Linked DNA regions of Homo sapiens: regions 2 and 3 are each linked to region 1. The links are contacts of gene promoters, found by promoter capture Hi-C in blood cells and fetal thymus (Javierre and others, 2016). All regions are on one chromosome and are shown on one strand. Each heading gives the region's core, a stretch centred on a gene start or on the middle of the fragment in contact. The rest is flanking DNA. Distances are from core to core; before and after follow the strand shown. Region 1 holds the start of GRHL3 (grainyhead like transcription factor 3). Region 2 has its middle 9.5 kb from the start of SRRM1. Region 3 overlaps CLIC4 (chloride intracellular channel 4).

Evidence for each region. The method cuts DNA at HindIII sites, captures the fragments that hold promoters and counts their contacts. A CHiCAGO score of 5 or more calls a contact.
Region 2: a fragment that was not itself captured here is called in contact with the fragment with the promoter of GRHL3 in region 1 in 2 of 17 cell types (non-activated CD4 T cells and naive CD4 T cells); the score reaches 6.1 in non-activated CD4 T cells.
Region 3: a contact is called between a fragment that was not itself captured here and the fragment with the promoter of GRHL3 in region 1, in 1 of 17 cell types (naive CD8 T cells). The highest score is 5.4, in naive CD8 T cells.

Annotation. Positions count from the first base shown.
Region 1 is chr1:24,317,878-24,320,767 of GRCh38, forward strand. It overlaps GRHL3 (grainyhead like transcription factor 3), which reads left to right and starts at 1,480. Exons shown (of 16, transcript NM_198173.3): 1 at 1,480-1,691. The coding sequence starts at 1,675. The region is part of intron 1 of GRHL3-AS1 (GRHL3 antisense RNA 1); the gene reads right to left. The HindIII fragment of the contact is 12,430 bases long and covers 465-2,890 here.
Region 2 is chr1:24,632,350-24,635,180 of GRCh38, forward strand. No RefSeq gene overlaps it. Among named protein-coding and RNA genes, the nearest start is that of SRRM1, 9.5 kb to the right of the region's middle. The HindIII fragment of the contact is 3,320 bases long and covers 1-2,831 here.
Region 3 is chr1:24,815,321-24,818,148 of GRCh38, forward strand. All of the region lies in intron 3 of CLIC4 (chloride intracellular channel 4), which reads left to right. Among named protein-coding and RNA genes, the nearest start is that of CLIC4, 71 kb to the left of the region's middle. The HindIII fragment of the contact is 5,114 bases long and covers 1-2,828 here.

The DNA of each region.
Region 1 (2,890 bases), core at 230-2,729:
GGGCTGCTCTGAGGAGGTGGCTTTATTAGCAATTATTTACTATTATTTATTAGGGTCCCCTGGGCTTCCCCCAACACAGCCTCCAGGGAGAAACCAATCTCTGAGAGTTCTCAAACCCAGTACCCCCTCTCCAGAGCCCTGACCCCACCCCAAGAGGGCTCCTTTGAATTCTGACTTTACCCTGAAAAACCTCCATAAATTGGCAGGGGTAGCTGAAACCTCACTTGCCGTTCCCAGAGAAGAGAGAGAGGAGTGGGCCAAGTTGAGGTTTCCAGGAAGACACAGCAAAGAGATAATTTGCCAAAAGGGGAAGGGTGGGGGAGGGGAGAATAGAAAGAGAGAGAGGGAAAAAAAGATGCCAAGATCTCTGGCTTAGATTTAATTTCAAACTAATCCTGGAAGAAGCTCTTTAAAAAGCTCTTACATTCTCCTGTTTGTGTTTGTGGATATTCTGGGGTTTACCAAGCTTGTTCTTTATAGTAGACAGCTCACAGCAATTACTCCACAATTACTTCATCTGACAGGCATTGAATTTCTCCCAAGTTCCCAATACAGAACGAAGCACTTGGAGCCTGTGAAATGACCAGCTGGCTGAGGCTTCAGAGGAGCCTTCAACTTTTCTATCCCTTCTGTGCTGACCAGAGGTATGTGGCTTGCCCACACCCCCTTCACACCCAATAAAAGCCTGTTCTCCTTTACTCCCCCACCCCCTGCCACCAACACACACCCCCCAGATTGTAAACTCCTTTAGAACAGTAACCCCTGTTTTTTCTGGCCTCAGTTTCTCCAGAACCCAGAGTAGGGTCTGGCACACAACGGGTGCTCAATGAATGTCTACTGAATTGAGGCCACTGACTTCAGCCCAAGGGGCAGCCAGACTTGGAGTGAGATGACTGCAGATTGGATCTGGGCTGGGACCTCGCTAGCTGTGCCCTTGGGCAAGGCACTTTGCCTCTCTGGCCTCCATTTCCTCCCTCATCTGTAAAATATGTGTTGAAGAGGAAGGGGGAAGCGATAATAAATCTACCACGGTAGGTTACTTTAAGAACCAAAAGAAGTCACTTGAGTAACTGCAAAAGATTATTCAAAAATATTACCTTAAAGGGGAAACTGAAAAAAAGGGAACTTATACAAAGATCTACCTGGGAAAAGTTGCTCTCTCCTTTGAGAATTCCCCAGTGGTACAGAAGGAGGGGGCAAAGAAATTTGGGGGTGGGGATGTTTCTGGGTATCTGGGACAATGACTAGAAACAGGAATCAAGTTTTCCTTTAAGCCAAGTTATCTGTTTGTCCCTGTACTTTTCCTCTAGTTATCTTGCTTCTTTCCAACATTTTCTTCTCCATCCCTCCTCCCTCATCTCCACCCCCCACCCCCTCACCAAGGAAGGAATTGGCCAGCTCCACCCAGCCAGTCCCCCATAGCTCCGCCCTCCTCGGCGGGCTAAGAGTTAACAGCTGCACCTGTTGAGGTATACCTCCAGTCGCCGGCACCTGTACCTGTAGCCAATCAGCGCCAGCGCTGCTGGGAACCTACCTGTCAGCAAAATCTCGACACCCAAACCTCAACATAAATCAAACACTTTCCCGGGCAGAGAATGTCTGTGTCAGGCAAGAATTAGAGACAAGCGGTCAGCAGAGCCTCAGTGCTGATCGTCGGAGCTTGGGAGCAGGAAGATGTCGAATGAACTTGAGTGAGTAAACATCGGTGGATACCTGCCGCTCTCAGAGCGTGGAGGCTGGATGGGGTTTCCTGGAGGGGGAAGAGCGGGGAGGCCGGCACCGGGATTCACAGAGCAATTTGTAAGGGTAAATGAATGGGCTGACGATCTTACTTTGGCGTGTCAAGGCAAGCCCCAGTCTCAAGCTAGAGGTGAGTGTTTCCCTGGGAAAATAGTTTTTCTCATTCTCTTTGCTGAGCAGTTTCGAGCCAGGCAGGGAAACACAAGACTGAAACTGTGAAGGTTTCTGGCACCACTTTTTGATCCTCTGAAGGGGCCTTGGAAATCAGACGACCCCAATCCCATCGAGGCTTTCTATCTTCTTGCCAAAAGGAACTTCTTTAAGGTAGTTCTAAGAGCTGTCTTAGGCAGAGAGTTGGGTTTCTCTAAAGGGACTTGTTTGCTGGGTTGGAACAGTCCCAAGTGGGAAGGTTACAGTGTGGTGGTTAAGCATGTGTACTCTTTGTAGTGGGCTTGACCTAAGTTCAAATCCAGGCTCTGTCCCTGGGTGATCTCAGACAAGACATTCAATTTTTCTGGGCTTCATTTTCCTCATCTGGAAAATGGGTACAAGAATGCTTTGTAGAATTCTGGAAAGAGTTAAGTGTGATAAATGCTGTAAAATGCTTAGCATAAAGCTATGGTCTGAAGATGCGTTCAGTAAAATGTGGTTCCTCTCATTCAGAGGCAGTTCTAAGGCTGGGGAAGATGAGAAGTGATTTTTGGTAGGTCACCTCTTTTGGCTGGGAGGATGCATGTGCCTTCCTGCCCACATCTGAGATTTAAGATCCTGACTGACTGATGCTGATCTTCACCATGATGTCCTTCTTGGGGTCCAGACCTTAGAGAAGGTAGGGTGAGGCTGGGATCTGGGCTGCTTTAGATTGGGTTCAGGGAGCTGGCAGGAGAAGCCAGAATCCTTTAAACACAGGCTCTCCTTTTCCTGCCACCCTCAGAGGTGAGTGGGCAGAGGCAAGGATTGTACCATCTTTTTTCTAACTGCTCCTCAACAGACTTTTAAGAACTTGAAGATCTGTGGGCAGACAGCAGTGCTAGGTCCTGACTGCAGACCGGATTCTATGTTCTAGCTAGCCCTTCAGCTCTTCATGTTCACAGCACAATCACTTGGGTTAACAGGCACATTTCTTTTGAATGAATTTCCCGGGGTTGAC
Region 2 (2,831 bases), core at 313-2,812, 310 kb after region 1:
TATATGCATATTAGTGAATATGTTGATTCTAGATATGATTGCTGCACATCCTGGTTCTACCACCCCCCCTTATCTGGTTGTAGGTTTGACATATAAGCAAATAGCCGCAATTTGTCCACTTGATAAGGGGTGATGACCCTCCCTGCAATGTAAGCAACCCTCATGGGCTGGAACTTGGACTTCAATAATTCATGGACTCATAGACTTCATCTTCATACCTATCCAGCCTAAGGGTCTTTATCTATTGCCCATGGGTAACTGGACTACAATTCTCCAGGGTCAAAAGAGAAGTCTTGTTTATCATATATGCTGAATGGTCTCTAGCCAGCCCTACATTTACAAGACAATGTGTTAAGGACCCTGCCTAGCTAGGGAATTTGGGTGTGGGAGGTAAAGAGAAAAAAGAAAGGCCACTTAGAGCAACAAGAGCTATTGATTATTTTTAAATGAAGTCAAGGATGATTTTTAATCACTGACCACTATGACCCCTGCTGTCCAAGTGTTGCTGGGCCTGAAGGTGAAGAAAATTGGCACAGGCCTCACTGGCTTTCCCTTCCTCTCACCTTGTGGATTTGGGAACCAGCTGGGAGGCAGTCACTGGCCAGATGAAGAAAGGCTTGTTTGCTCATTCACCAGAAAGATAAGATCTGTCTATATTCCCTCCTCCAGCCATTTGCTTTAACACCTACATGAATGTCAAGCAACTGGTAATGTGGTCTTAACCCTAAGCAGATGGACCAAACCCTGAAAGTAAGTTCTGTTGTATGTTGCCTGTGTGATTTTACACAACTCACTTTTTCTCACGCCTTACTGTACTCATCTGTAAAACAGGAATAATACCGATGTATTAGCTTGCTAGGGCTGCCATAACAAAGTATCACACACTGGGTGGCTTAAGCAACAGAAGTGTATTTTATCACTGTTCTGGAGGCTGGAAGTCCAAGATCAAGTGTCAGCAGGGTTGTTTTCTTCTGAAGCATCTCTCCTTGGCTTATAGGTGGCCGTCTGCTCCTTATGTCTTAATTTGGTCTTCCCTCTGTGTGTGCGTCTGTATCTTAATTTCCTCTTCTTCTTTATTTATTTATTTATTTTTGAGATAGGTCTTGCTCTGTCACCCAGGCTGGAGTGCAGTGGCACGATCTTGGCTCACTGCAACCTCCGCCTCCTAGGTTCAACAATTCTCCTGCCGCAGCCTCCCAAGTAGCGGGGACGACAGGCACCTGCCACTACGCCCAGCTGATTTTTGTGTTTTTAGTAGAGATGGGGTTTCACCATGTTGGCCAGGCTGGTCTCGAACCCCTGACCTCAAGTGATCCGCTCACCTCGGCCTCCCAAAGTGCTGGGATTACAGGCATGAGTCACTGTGCCCAGCCAATTTCCCCTTCTTATAAGGACTCCAATTATATTGGATAAGGACCCACCTAATGGTCTCATTCTAACTTAATTACCTTTTTAAGGACGCTATCTCCAAATACAGTCACATTCCAAGGTACTGGAGGTTAGGACCTCAATATGAATTTGGAGATGGTGAAGGGACAGGGCAGGGGTTGAGAGGGGGAGACAATTCGGCCAGGGGTTGGGAGGGGGAGACAATTCAGCCTGTAACAATCTGCTAGATATTATTGTGAAGACTGAATTAGCTAAAGTGTTTAAAGCATTAACACAAAGCCTGACATAATATGACCCCCCCAAAATGGTAATTATTATTATGAAATCCCATATAAAAGAAAAGTACTGCCATCTAAATACAGAGAGAACATAGACAGGTACAGGGAATTCCAACCATGGTTCTTCATTTCCCATCTGATGGGTGCTGCTCTTATTCTTCCAGCTCTTGTTTTAAAAATATGCAAACATGGGCTGGGCGCGGTTGCTCACACCTGTAATCCCAGCACTTTGGGAGGCCGAGATGGGCAGATCACGAGGTCGAGAGATGAGACTATCCTGGCCAACATGGTGAAACCCCGTCTCTACTAAAAATAACAAAAATTAGCCAGCCGTGGTGGTGTGCCTGTAGTCCCAGCTACTTGGGAGGCTGAGGCAGGAGAATTGCTTGAACCTGGGAGGCAGAGGTTGCAGTGAGCCGAGATCGTGCCACTGCACTCCAGCCTGGCGACAGAGCAAGACTCCACCTAAAATATATATATATGCAAACATGGCCGGGCACAGTGGCTCACGTCTGTAATCTCGGCAGTTTGGGAGGCTGAGGCGGGCGGATCACTTAAGGTCAAAAGTTCGAGATCAGCCTAGCAAACATGGTAAAACTCCATCTCTACTAAAAATACAAAAATTAGCCAAGTGTGTTGGCACATGCCTGTAATCCCAACTACTTAGGAGGCTGAAGTCAGAGAATTGCTTGAACCCGGGAGCCGGAGGTTGCAGTGAGCCGAGATCATGCCACTGCACTCCAGCCTGGGCAACAGAGTGAGACTCCATCTAAAAAAAAAAAAGAAAAGAAAAAAAATGCAGCCAGGCACGGTGGCTTACGTCTGTAATCCCAGCACTTTGGGAGGCCAAGACGGGAATATCACTTGAGGTCAGGAGTTCAAGACCAGCCTGGCCAACATGGTGAAACCCCATCTCTAATAAAAATACAAAAATTAGCCTGGCATAATGCCGCATGCCTGTAATCCCAGCTTTGCTCGGGAGGCTGTGGCAGGAGAATTGCTTGAACCCGGGAGGCGGAGGTTGCAGTGAGCTGATATCGCACCACTGCACTCCAGCCTGTGTGACAGAGCGAGACTCTGTCTCCAAAAAAAAAAAAAAAAAGCAAACATAATACTTGAATATAACATCTGTGGAGGTCTTTCCATGGGATGACAAGCAAAGAT
Region 3 (2,828 bases), core at 253-2,752, 500 kb after region 1:
AACCCCGTCTCTACTAAAAAATACAAAAAAAATTAGCTGGGCGTGGTGGCAGGCACCTGTAATCCCAGCTACTCGGGAGGCTGAGGCAGGAGAATTGCTTGAACCAGGGAGGCAGAGGTTGTAGTGAGCCAAGATCGTGCCACTGCACTCCAGCCTGGGTGACAAAAGCAAAACTCCGTCTCAAAAAAAAATCATTGCTAAAAAATGCTAATGGTTATCTGAGCCTTCAGCGAGTCAATCTTTTTGCCGATGGAGGGTCTTGCCTTGATGTAGCTGGCTACTGACCGATCAGAATGGTGATTGCTGGTTGGGGTGGCTGTGGCAATTTCTTGAAGTAAGATAACAATGAATTTTTCTACATTGATGGACTCTTCCTTTCATGAAAGATTTCTCTGTAACATGCAATAGTGTTTGATAGCATTTAAAAATTTTAAAGTAAATATTCTTTGCCTGAGGCTAATCTCAAGAGGTCCTGAGAACATGCACCCCTGTTTGATAGTGTTTTTACCCACAGTAGAACCTTTTTCAAAATTAGAATCCATCTTCTGAAACCCTCCTGCTGTTTTAACAACTAAGTCGATGTAATATTCTAAATTCCTTGTTGTCATTTCAACAATGTTCTTAGCATCTTCACTAGGTATACATTCTATCTCAAGAAACCATTTTCTTTGCTCATCATAAGAAGCAACTCCTCATCCATTCAAATTTTATTATGAAGGTAGAACAATTTGATTACATTTTCAGGCTCCAGTTCTAATTCTAGTTCTCTTGCTATTTTCAACACATATGTAGTTCCTCCCTCCACTGATGTCTTGAACCTGTGAATGTCGTCCATGAGGGTTAGAATCCACTTCCTCCAAACTCCTGTTAATGTTGCTATTTTGACCTCCTCCCATGAATCATGAATGTTCGTGTTTTTTTTTTTTTTTTTTTTTTGGACGGAGTTTTCGTTCTTATCGCCCAGGCTGGAGTGCAGTGATGCGATCTCGGCTCACTGCAACCTCCACCTCCCAGGTTCAAGCAATTCTCCTGCTTCAGCCTCCTGAGTAGCTGGGATTACAGGTGCCTGCCGCCATGACCAGCTAATTTTTTTGTATTTTTTAGTAGAGTTGGGGTTTTGCCATTTTGGCCAGGCTGGTCTTGAACTCCTGACCTCAGATGATCCGCCCGTCTCGGCCTCCCAAAGTGCTGGGATTACAGGTGTGGTATGAGCCACCAGACCTGGCTGAATGTTCTTAATTGCATCTAGAAAGGTAAATCTTTTCCAGGTCACTTTGCTTTGCTCAGATCCATCAGAGGAATCACTTTCTATGGCCTTATGAAATGTGTTTATTAAATAATAAGACTTGAAAGTCAAAATTTATGGACTGCAGAATGGATGTTGTGTTAGCAGGCATGAAAACAACCATGATCTCCCTGTATATCTCTATCAGAGTTCTGGGGGGACTAGTGCATTGTCAATGAGCAGTAATATTTAGAAAGGAATCTTTTTTTCCTGGGCAGTGGGTCTCAACAGTGGGCTTAAAATATTTAGTAAACCATACTGTGAACAGATGGATGTGCCATTATCCAGGCTTTATTGTTCCATTTATAGAGCATCTGTAGAGTAGCTTCAGTATAATTCTTAAGGGTTCTTCAAATTTTGGAATGGAAGATGAGCATGGGTTTCAACCTAATGTCAACAGCTGGATTAGACTCTTAACAGAGTCAGCCTGTCCTTTGAAGATTTGAAACCAGACGTTGACTTTTTCTCTGTAGCTATGAAAATCATAGATGACATCTTTCAATAGAAGGTTTTGTCTGCATTAAAAATCTGTTTAGTGTAGCCACCTTCATCAATGATCTATCTAGAAGATCAATTCTAGATAGATCATTGTTGAAGGTAGATCAGATTTTCTAGATAGATCATCAGATGAAGGTGATGAAGGAAGATCTAGATAGATCAGCTAGATCTTCTAGATAGATCAGCTAGATCTTCTAGATAGATCAGCTAGATCTTCTAGATAACTGGCTGCATGCAGCTTCTGCATAAGCATTTGCTGCTTCATGTTTTACTTTTATGTTACAAAGATGGCCTCTTTCCTTAAACCTCACGAACCAACCTCTGCTACCTTCAAACTTTCTTCTGTAGATTTGTCACCTCTCTCTGCCTTGATAGAACTGAAGTGAGTTAGGGCCTTGATCTGGATTAGGTTTTGGCTTAAGGGAATGCTGTGGCTGGTTTGATTATCTGGACCACTCAAACTTTCTCCCTATTGGCAATAAAGCTGTTTTTCTCTATCATTTGTGTGTTCACTGGAATAGCACTATTAAATTTCCTTCAAGAACTTTTCTTCTGTATATGCTGTTTGGCTGTTTGGTGGAAGAAGTCTAGCTTTCAGCCTATCTCAGCTTTTGGCCTGTCTCAGCTTTCGACATGCTTTCCTCACTAAGCAGAATCATTTCTAGCTTTTGATTTAAAGTGAGAGATATGTGACTCTTCCCTTCACCTGAACACTGAGAGGTCATTGTAGGGTCATCAACTGTGGGCTAATTTCAACATTATTTTGTCTCAGGGAGCAGGAAGGCCTGAGGAGAGGGAAAGACAGGGGAACAGCAATCACTGGAGCAGTCAGAACACATATGATATTAATCAGTTAAGTGTGCTGTCTTATATGGGTGTGGTTTGTGGTGCCCCCAAAACAATTACAAGAGTAACATCAGAGATCACTAATCACAGATCATCATAACAGATACAATAATAATGAAAAGTTTTGAAATATTGCGAAAAATACCACAGTGTGACAGAGACATGAAGTGAGCACATGCTGCTGGGAAAAATGGCGCCA